3 separate regions of the Homo sapiens genome follow, and regions 1 and 3 are each linked to region 2. Evidence: promoter capture Hi-C in human tissues and cell types (Jung and others, 2019). All regions are on one chromosome and are shown on one strand. Each heading gives the region's core, a stretch centred on a gene start or on the middle of the fragment in contact. The rest is flanking DNA. Distances are from core to core; before and after follow the strand shown. Region 1 overlaps LINC01965 (long intergenic non-protein coding RNA 1965). Region 2 holds the start of POU3F3 (POU class 3 homeobox 3). Region 3 overlaps LINC01965 (long intergenic non-protein coding RNA 1965).

Region 1 (2,946 bases), core at 201-2,700, 880 kb before region 2:
ATGATTATGTCATCTGTTAATGAACATAATATTATTTTTTCCTTCACAATCTGTATGTGTTTTATTTCATTTCCTATCTTATTAAGCCAACTAGGACTTCCAGTACACTGTTGAATAGAAGTGGTGAGAGAGGACATCATTGCTTTGGTCATAATCTTGGAAGAATGTGCCCAGTTTTTCATGATTAATTATAATATTAGCTGCCAATTTTGTTAGATGTTCTTTATTGAGTTGAAGAGGTTCTCTAGCATTTTTTTATTGCTCCAAGTTTTTATCATATATGGATGTTGACTTTTTCAAATGCCTTTTCTCTAACCACTGCATGATTTTTTTCTAATTTGTTTCTTCTATTGAGTTAAAATTTGTCAATTAGGAATCATCAGAGATAACAAGGATATTTCTCATTCCATATCTTTCTGAAGGTTACCAGCCATTTAAAGTTTTATGTGAATTGATTTATTGATTACTTTCTTTCTCATTTGTCATTTTTCTTGGAAGGCTTTATCCCTTATCCATAAAATGGTACAAGAAAACTATGTATCTCATAAAATTATGGTAAGAAATAAGTAGGCAAATAGCTATGAAGCCTTCAGAAGAATGAATATTCCATAGAAACAACTCAGTCAATATTTCTTATGGCTATCATTATGAATGCAAACATTATAATAGTTTTTATTTATTAAGTTTAATGCTGGGCAGATTTTGATAGGTAGTTAATGCTTAGATGACGGTCTATCCTGAGGGGCAGTACACTTGCGGGAAATATAAAGACAGTGACCACCTGAGGTACTGAATAAGTAGTGGAAAGGTTCCTAACACAAATTAAATATTTTTAATGTGTGCCCAGATTTGTCTCTGAAGATGGAGACTCCCCACCTCTCTGTTGCTCCATTTGATCCCTGCTGACATGCTCTTGTACACAAATGACCTACGGTCACAGTGAAGGCTTATTATGTTTTATCTGGTAGACCCCACGTGCTTTTCATTATATTGTCTTTCCATGGAATGAGAATGATCTCAAGGTTCCAAACTCACTTGTGGGACACTTTTTTTTTTGAGACGAATTCTCACTCTGTTGCCCAGGCTGGAGTGCAGTGGCATGATCTCTGCTCACTGCAACCTCCGCCTCCAGGGTTCAAGCAATTCTCATGTCTCAGCCTCCTGAGAAGCTGAAACTATAGACACATGCCACCACACCTGGTTAATTTTTGTATTTTTAGTAGCGATGGGGTTTCACCATATTGGTCAGGCTAGTCTTGAACTCCTGACCTCAAGTGATCCACCCGCCTCCGCCTCCCAAAGTGTTGCAATTACAGGTGTGAGCCACCAGGCCCAGCCTGGAACATACATTTTCCAAAAGTCCCAGACTGAGGCCACGGAAATGAAACTAAGCCCCCACCAAGAACTGGCTCATCAAATGTCAAATGAAACAAATATTACACTTAGGTTGCAACCCTCTCATTCATATAACTTGTTTTCATTTTGGGTTATGTCCTGCTTTTGAATGATTTTTTTTATCATTTGTGGCTTTGGCTGTACTTTATGTGAATTTGACGCATTCAGGGACAGTCTATCAAATTTAAAATACAGAAAGCCAAACAAGGATATAGGAAAGGCCTAAGGAAGAGCTTGAACGGTAAAGATAGATGCAGTTTATTTTTTTAATTCTGAGAAACAAATTATATTTTGGCAGACAATTATTTTTCAAACCATTTCAAATTTTACTAACCATTTTTCTCTCTTATGTGCTCAAACTATGGTGGAACTTTCATTATTTCCACAATTCAGGTTCTTCCACTCGGGAAATGCAACAATTACTGCATTGGGAAAAGGAAGAATGCCTTTCTGAAGAGAAGCTGCCATCTGCAGCTCGGCTAGGATTTGTCTTGGATGCTACTACCATTTGTAGACTTGTAATATCTTTCTAATTGCAGTTGCTGTTGACTTACAGCAAAACAGCAGAATACTTGCTGGCCATGGTCTATAAATGAAAGCAAAAAAAAAAAAAAGACAGGAAAAATCAACTAGTGGTTAGTACAACAGAAACTGAAACATAGTATTATAAACTTTATCTTTTTGTATAAATTTTTAATTGTCTGTATCAATGGAAAACAGGTCTGCCAATCAACTGATCCACTATTTTTCCCCAAATTTAATTTAGTCAGCCATTTGAACTATTCTACCAAAGCTGCTAAAAATCCAAAGGAAGGGATTTAAACGTTCTTACCTTGCTCTAGTCTAGATTTACTAGCCAGCATTTTACTGCAAAAGAGAAAGAGGCCATGTATCTTACCCCAAATATCCAACAAACATTTAGGATTTTGAAACCTTGATTTGTCTATAATATTCATAAATACTAAGTTTCTCTTATTGGCTAAATTAATACGTAAATATTAGTTGAAATGGTTAAGTGCAGATGCAATTCGACTTGCCTGAATCTGAATGTTTGTTACACCACTTAGTCACTGGGTGAGAAAAATGTGTTACATAACCTCTCTGAGCCTTAAATCCTTACATCCATTGTAACTCTTGGACACATAGCATCTGCATTGTAGGACTGTTGCATAATTAAGTGAAATGATTCATGTAGGATGCTCAGAACCATGTCTTCTGCATAGTAGGTCCTCATTAAACATTTTTTAAAAGATGGAGCCAAATTTTGCACCTTAAAGCTTTGTAGTATTCTACATGCCCCACATTTTTTTCCCTTGAGGACACAAAAGAAATCCTGGTTTCTTTGTTTTTCTTCCTGAATTCTTGCTTGGATTTAATTTTCTTTTCAGACCAAATTAGGGTGTGTTTAGTACAGAACCATACAGCATCAGATGGATTTTCGTTGGAGCAACTGAAACTTCATGTGCAGCAGCCTTTGTTCTGAATGTAATAATAAAATGTGAAGTTACGTTCAGGTGAAAGTAGGGCAGGCCTGCCTTTTAGAGATTTAAA
Region 2 (2,991 bases), core at 359-2,858:
GACTGCCAGATGCAGGCTCTGGCTGGGGGCGGCGGGCGCAAGCGGGCGCACCCGCAGCTAGGGGTGCGGGGTGCACGCACACGCACGCTCATTAAGAGCCATGTATTTATTGAATGTCCGAGTTGGGTTAGTTCATTGGAAATCCCCGAGGAGGGCTCAATTTGCCCTTGTTTTCGTTGCCACTTTCTCTTTTTTCTTGGTTCGCTGAGGTTCCTCTGTGCAGCGTTTCCGCTTGGCCGCGTCCCCCCACCCCACCCCACCCCACCCCCGCTTCTCTCGCCTACCGGGTGCACTCCCCCTCCCATCCCCCTTAACTCTTTCAGCTGGGTTAGAGCTGAGAAAGCATTTGTCGCCGCCAGCCCCATCCACCACGCAAATCCATCTGAGACAGAAAGGAAAGAAAAAAAAGCACCACCATGCCTAAGAATAGAGAGCGAGCAAACCCCCCCACCGCTAATCACACACACACACACACACACACACACACACACACACGAGGAAGCGGTGGAGCAGAGAAGGGCGCGGCTAGCCGATCCCGGTTCTTTCGCCCGGCTCCTGCTGCCACAGGGAATTCCTAAAGCCATTGGGGTCGAATACACTTACGATGAATCTATGGGGGAAGGTCGGACTGATTGCTTTTCAAATACATCGCACGGCTCCGCTGACCGGCACCCTCCAAACTCACAAGGGCACGCACGCTACTTGCACGAATCCCAGAGGAGGGAGGAGGGAGGAAGGGAGGGAGAGCGAAGGAGGGAGAGAGGGGGTGGAGGAGCCAGGGAGCGGCGGCAGCGAGCGGTCCGTCTCGCACGCGCGGGCACCGCGCTGGTCCTGGGCTGCAGGTTTCCCAGATGATGGCATCCGAGAACTTAAACAAAGGGGGCTGCCGCCGGCGCGCAACGGCTGCGGAAAGTTGCGGTGGCGGATTTCCAAGGAGCGTGGCCACGACCAGAGCTCTTGGCGATGCGAGCCCCCGCTTCCCACCCCCGCCGATCAGAGAAGGGGGCCGGCTGGTGAAGGGAAGAGGAAACTTTGAAACCACTGGGGACACATCTGTCTATAGGTATTAGCTTGAATGGTACATCCGTGCCGCGCGCTTTACAAATCTCTGGCGGGGCGGGGGTAAGGGGGTGAGCAACCCGACGCGTACTAGGTGGGGTGGGCAGGTTGCTATTTTTCATGTTTCCCCCTTCGTTTTCCTTCTGATTCTCTTCCCCCCTCTCGTCCCTCCCTCCCTTTTATCTCCCCTTTCTTCCCCCCGCCCAGACCTATTGCGAACGCCCAGAGCCGCCGAGGGAACGCCAACGTCTGGGCCGGACACTAAGAGTTAAGATGTGGCGGAGGGGGCGGCGGGGGAGGGGCGGGGAGGGGAAAGTGGTGAGGGGGAGGGAGGCTGGAGGACGACAGATTTCCAGCTTCTACGACGCTCTGCCTAAATTAAAAAGCAACCAATCGGAACGGCCGGAAGGGGGGCCTCGCGTCCTGAGCCAGTCATTCCGAGCCTGCCAATCACCCAGCGGGTAGCCAATCAGCGGGGGCCCTGGTGCTCGACTTCCTTGTATTTGGGAAAGTGTGGTGGTGGGTGCGCGCTCGCGGCGGAGGGTAAACATTCGACAGTCCCCGCTCTGAGAGGGAGGGACAGAGAGCGAACTGTCAGATCGGAGCGAGAGCGGGCGCCCGAGAGAGGGAGAGAGAGAGAGGGAGGGAGAGGAAAAGTGAGAGAGGGAAAGAGAGCGCGAACGAGGGCGCAGAGCGAGCTCCTGCTGCAACTCTGCTCCAGCACGGCCAGCGCCAGCGCCCGCCGTCGGTGCACTCTACGAGCCGTGCAGCGTGCCCACTGGAGTTGTTGTGTATCAAGGATCGATCCCCTATATGCACACACACACCTCCACCTCCACCAATGCACTCTTCTTCCTCCTCCTTCTCCAGACAACTGCTGGGAAAAAAATAAAACACCAACCCCAACCGTCAGCAACAAGGTAACAGAGCGATTCGACATCATTTTTTTTCCTGTTCAATTTTTTCCTTGTTATATTTGTTTCCTAATTTCTGCCCAAAAGGAAAGATGTCGCATCAGACTGTGACTGTTGCGAGGAGAATGAAAAAGGACTCTTGTTTCAGAGGCAACCAAGAGCTCCGGCAATAGCAACTTCAGAGAAATGCACCATCGCAAGAAGTTTTCCTAGGACAGAACAAAACTTGAAACGAGAGGACCAGAGGGGGAGAGCAGGAGCCAGCCTCCCCTCTCCGCACTCGCGAGCAGCCAGCAGCACCACGCCTTCAAGGACGAAAAAGTTTTACTACTCTAAGGGAAAACGAGTGAAATGTGTTCCTGAGGAGGAGAGGAGAGGAGAGGAGAGAGCGGACAAGAGAAGGAGCGGGCCGGTTGCTGGTCATCCGTAATTTGGCTAAGGAAGAAAGGAGCAGCTTCTTTCTTTGTTATCTCCCGTGAAACCTTCACTTAGCAGGTGGACGGAGCCCCGCGACCGGGCAGAGTCCGGGCTCGCCCGAGGACAGGAGGAGGAGCGGGAGCCCGCGCGTCCCGGGAGAGCGCCCCGAGTGCAGGTCCCCGCCCCGCCCGGCGAGCCCCGCTGGAGCGAGCCCAGCGCGCCGGGGCTGGGGGGCGGCCACGACCCCCCCTGAAGGGGGTGGCCACGGAGCGCACCCCGAGAAGCGAGCCCCCCTCCCCAGAGCGCTGCTCCTGCGGCTGCTGCTGCTGCTGGTGACCAAGGCCGGCCGGCGACCCCCGCGCCCTGCCGAGCGGCCTTGCAGCTGCAGCCGGGGGCCGCGGCGGCGGCGGCGGCGGCGGGGGCGGAGGCGGCGGCGGAGGAGGAGGCGGCGAAGGCGGCGGGGCCGGCGGGGGCCCGGGGCGGGGGCGGGGAAGGAGGGGGGGAGGAGGCGGGAGGCGGGGGGCGCGGCGGCGGCGGCGGCGGCGGCGGCCGCGGCTGCTGCTGCGGCGGCGGCGGCGGTGGTGGCGGCGGTGGGGTGGCG
Region 3 (2,700 bases), core at 21-2,520, 830 kb before region 2:
GGATGCATTTAAAATAAGGGTTTTTTTTTCTTGTTCTTTTCTTGATTTAACAAATCTGTAGATGTTCTTCGTCAAAAAAAAGGGGGCGGGGATCGAGGATACGGGAATATGGATGGGATCCCGGGCTCCAGGTACTGCCACAGTCTCTTGGTTTTATTTCCTAGTACTTGTTTTTTCTCATATCTTCCAGTGATCAGGGTAGTTACAAAAGGTGAGCCTTCAATGCTATTAATGCACCAGAAGTCATGTTTTACCATAGAATGGAATTAGACATAAGATGTGGTGGATCTGGGCCGGGTGCGGTGGTTCTAGGCGGAGGCGGGCGGATCACGAGGTCAGGAGATCCAGACCATCTTGGCTAACACGGTGAAACCCCGCCTCTACTAAAAAAAAAATACAAAAAAATTAGCAGGGCATGGTGGCGGGCGCCTGTAGTCTCAGCTACTCGGGAGGCTGAAGCAGGAGAATGGCGTGAACCCGGGAGGCTGAGCTTACAGTGAGCCTAGATCGCGCCACTGCACTCCAGCCTGGGCGGCAGACTGAGACTCCGTCTCACAGACAAAAAAAAAAAAAAAAAAGTGGTTGATCTGTCCTTTACCCTATCTAGCTCATGGGGTACAACATGAAATGCCAAAATTTTCGGAGTAGTTTAGTGCCAGACTGGAAACTAAATCTGTGCATGTATTTTTTAAATGGGGAAATGGAAGTCCTGATGATTCACCAGCTTGTTCAAAACAGGCAGAGACTAGAAGGTGGTTTCTAGGCTTAGTGACTTGGGCTACAACAGGCTAGGTCACTATGCCACACTGCTGGGTCATCGACTAGGTGGACAGCATAGTGCAATTTTTCCACCTGGCCGTCCAACTTCGATAAGGGAAACATTTTCTCGAGTGGACAAAGGGTTCCCTTCCATGCTAGATTTAACGTCAGATGTGCCTTGGGAAACATGCTTTAAAAAACACAGACTTTACTTTGTACATTTGGAAGAAAATATTCTATTTGGCCCCTGAAAGGTTTAGGAAAAGATATTTTCAATAAATTCATTGGCAGAGAATCCCACGTAACTCCACAGGATGGAAAAGAGATATTTTAAATAAATCTAGGCTTTCCATTCATTTATTAATGTAAAAATTTATTTATCCACTCATCTAATCCATATTTACAGAGCTGGTAATATAATTTGGATCAGAGCGTGCAATGGGGATGGAGTAATAAACAAAACAGTCAAAAACCCTTGCTCTGGTGAATTCATATTCTAGTAAGAGAAAGACAGACAAGAAATGAAGCAAACAGGGAAATCCTGGAGTTCAAGGGTAGACAGTATTGCAGAGAAAAATAAAGCTAAGAAGCTGGAGAGAGTGTTCCTTGGGAACGGGGGAGGGGATGGGTAATACGTACCCCTGAATTTTACATGAAGACTTGAAGGGGAGGGCTGTTAGATGCCAGCAGATGTAAGAAGCAGATCTCATGTAGAACTCCCCAAAGCTACACGGTAATTTTTATTTTACCAAAGTTTAGGAATTATGAGGTTCAAAGAGGTTTGGCAACTTGTGCACGGTCACAAAGACAAGATACAGATGCATAAGAACTTTGCACACAGGTAGATTTTTGTTAACACAGTATCAGTAATTTCATATTCACCAAGCTCTCATTTATCACCCAATGATATGCTGTGTGTCTGTGTGGCATTGTGCAATAGAGAACCGGAAACTCCCTCTAATATGTTAAGGGAAAAAAAAGAATAAAAGATAATTCAATGCCTTTCTTTAATAGCAAAAATAAAGTACACCAAATTCGCTTTTCCTAATTCCTCTAAGAAATATTATCAAAGGCATTGCTGCAGTTGCCTGTTGCCACTGAGGCACTGAGTAATCAAACACGGAGCACACACCCTTGTTTAGCATCTCAGCATGTGGAAAATCATCCTGCACAGTCCCTCTAAAACAGAAGGTTACAGCCAATATGTCTGTGCAAGGAATGCAATGAACAAAAAGACATCTGTTTGAGATGAGCACAATAAGGAAATAGTTCAAGAGCCACTGTATCATCCTTTGCATTGTGAAGAATCTTCACATAAATTTCCATGCCAGGTAGTTCTCAAAAAGTTCTTCAGTCCCCACAGGCGAATATCAATTTTGTGTGACTTAGTTCGGGGAGCCCTATCCTTCTACATTCCATATGCTGAAAAATCACACTTGCATGAAGACTACATCAGAAAAATAGTGCACTTTGGGATCCTTGGAGCAGCAACAGCCAATTTCTATGCCAACCAATCTTTCCTTATCACTTGAACTTGCCTCTATCACTGTGATCATTTCCTTTCATATGTATATGTCCTCCATTAGATTCTTAAAGGGATTCATTCATTATTTAATCCATGTGGATTTTTTTCTTGCTTGTTTTCTCTTTTCTTTTTTTGAAATAAAACAAACTAAAAGCTAGACTTTGCATTTCAAATCCACACATTGGAGGAAGACGTGGAGGTGCGGGTGTGTGGGTTGGTTCAATTGCACGTGTCGAGGTGCCAGGATCCGTGATGTACTGGGAGAGATGGTCTTCTGCAAGCTGATTATGCATCAGACCCTGTGTTTAGAGAGCAGATGTTCTGGGTTCTCGGTGGGGATGGCAATGACCCACCAGCACACTGAGGGTGCTGCTGGATCTGCTGTCGCTATTCAAGTCACTTCCTGTAACATTTGG

Evidence for each region. The method cuts DNA at HindIII sites, captures the fragments that hold promoters and counts their contacts. A contact is called where the count stands out against the background at its distance.
Region 1: a fragment that was not itself captured here is called in contact with the fragment with the promoter of POU3F3 in region 2 in 2 of the 25 tissues and cell types used here (dorsolateral prefrontal cortex and neural progenitor cells).
Region 3: a fragment that was not itself captured here is called in contact with the fragment with the promoter of POU3F3 in region 2 in 1 of the 25 tissues and cell types used here (dorsolateral prefrontal cortex).

Annotation. Positions count from the first base shown.
Region 1 is chr2:103,970,031-103,972,976 of GRCh38, forward strand. The region is part of intron 1 of LINC01965 (long intergenic non-protein coding RNA 1965); the gene reads left to right. Among named protein-coding and RNA genes, the nearest start is that of LINC01965, 97 kb to the left of the region's middle. The HindIII fragment of the contact is 6,653 bases long and covers 1-2,946 here.
Region 2 is chr2:104,852,507-104,855,497 of GRCh38, forward strand. It overlaps POU3F3 (POU class 3 homeobox 3), which reads left to right and starts at 1,609. Exons shown (of 1, transcript NM_006236.3): 1 at 1,609-2,991. It also overlaps a transcript of PANTR1 not described here. RefSeq lists a silencer at 1-4 and an enhancer at 1,213-1,802. The HindIII fragment of the contact is 12,067 bases long and covers 1-2,991 here.
Region 3 is chr2:104,021,323-104,024,022 of GRCh38, forward strand. All of the region lies in intron 1 of LINC01965 (long intergenic non-protein coding RNA 1965), which reads left to right. Among named protein-coding and RNA genes, the nearest start is that of LINC01965, 150 kb to the left of the region's middle. The HindIII fragment of the contact is 4,134 bases long and covers 1-2,700 here.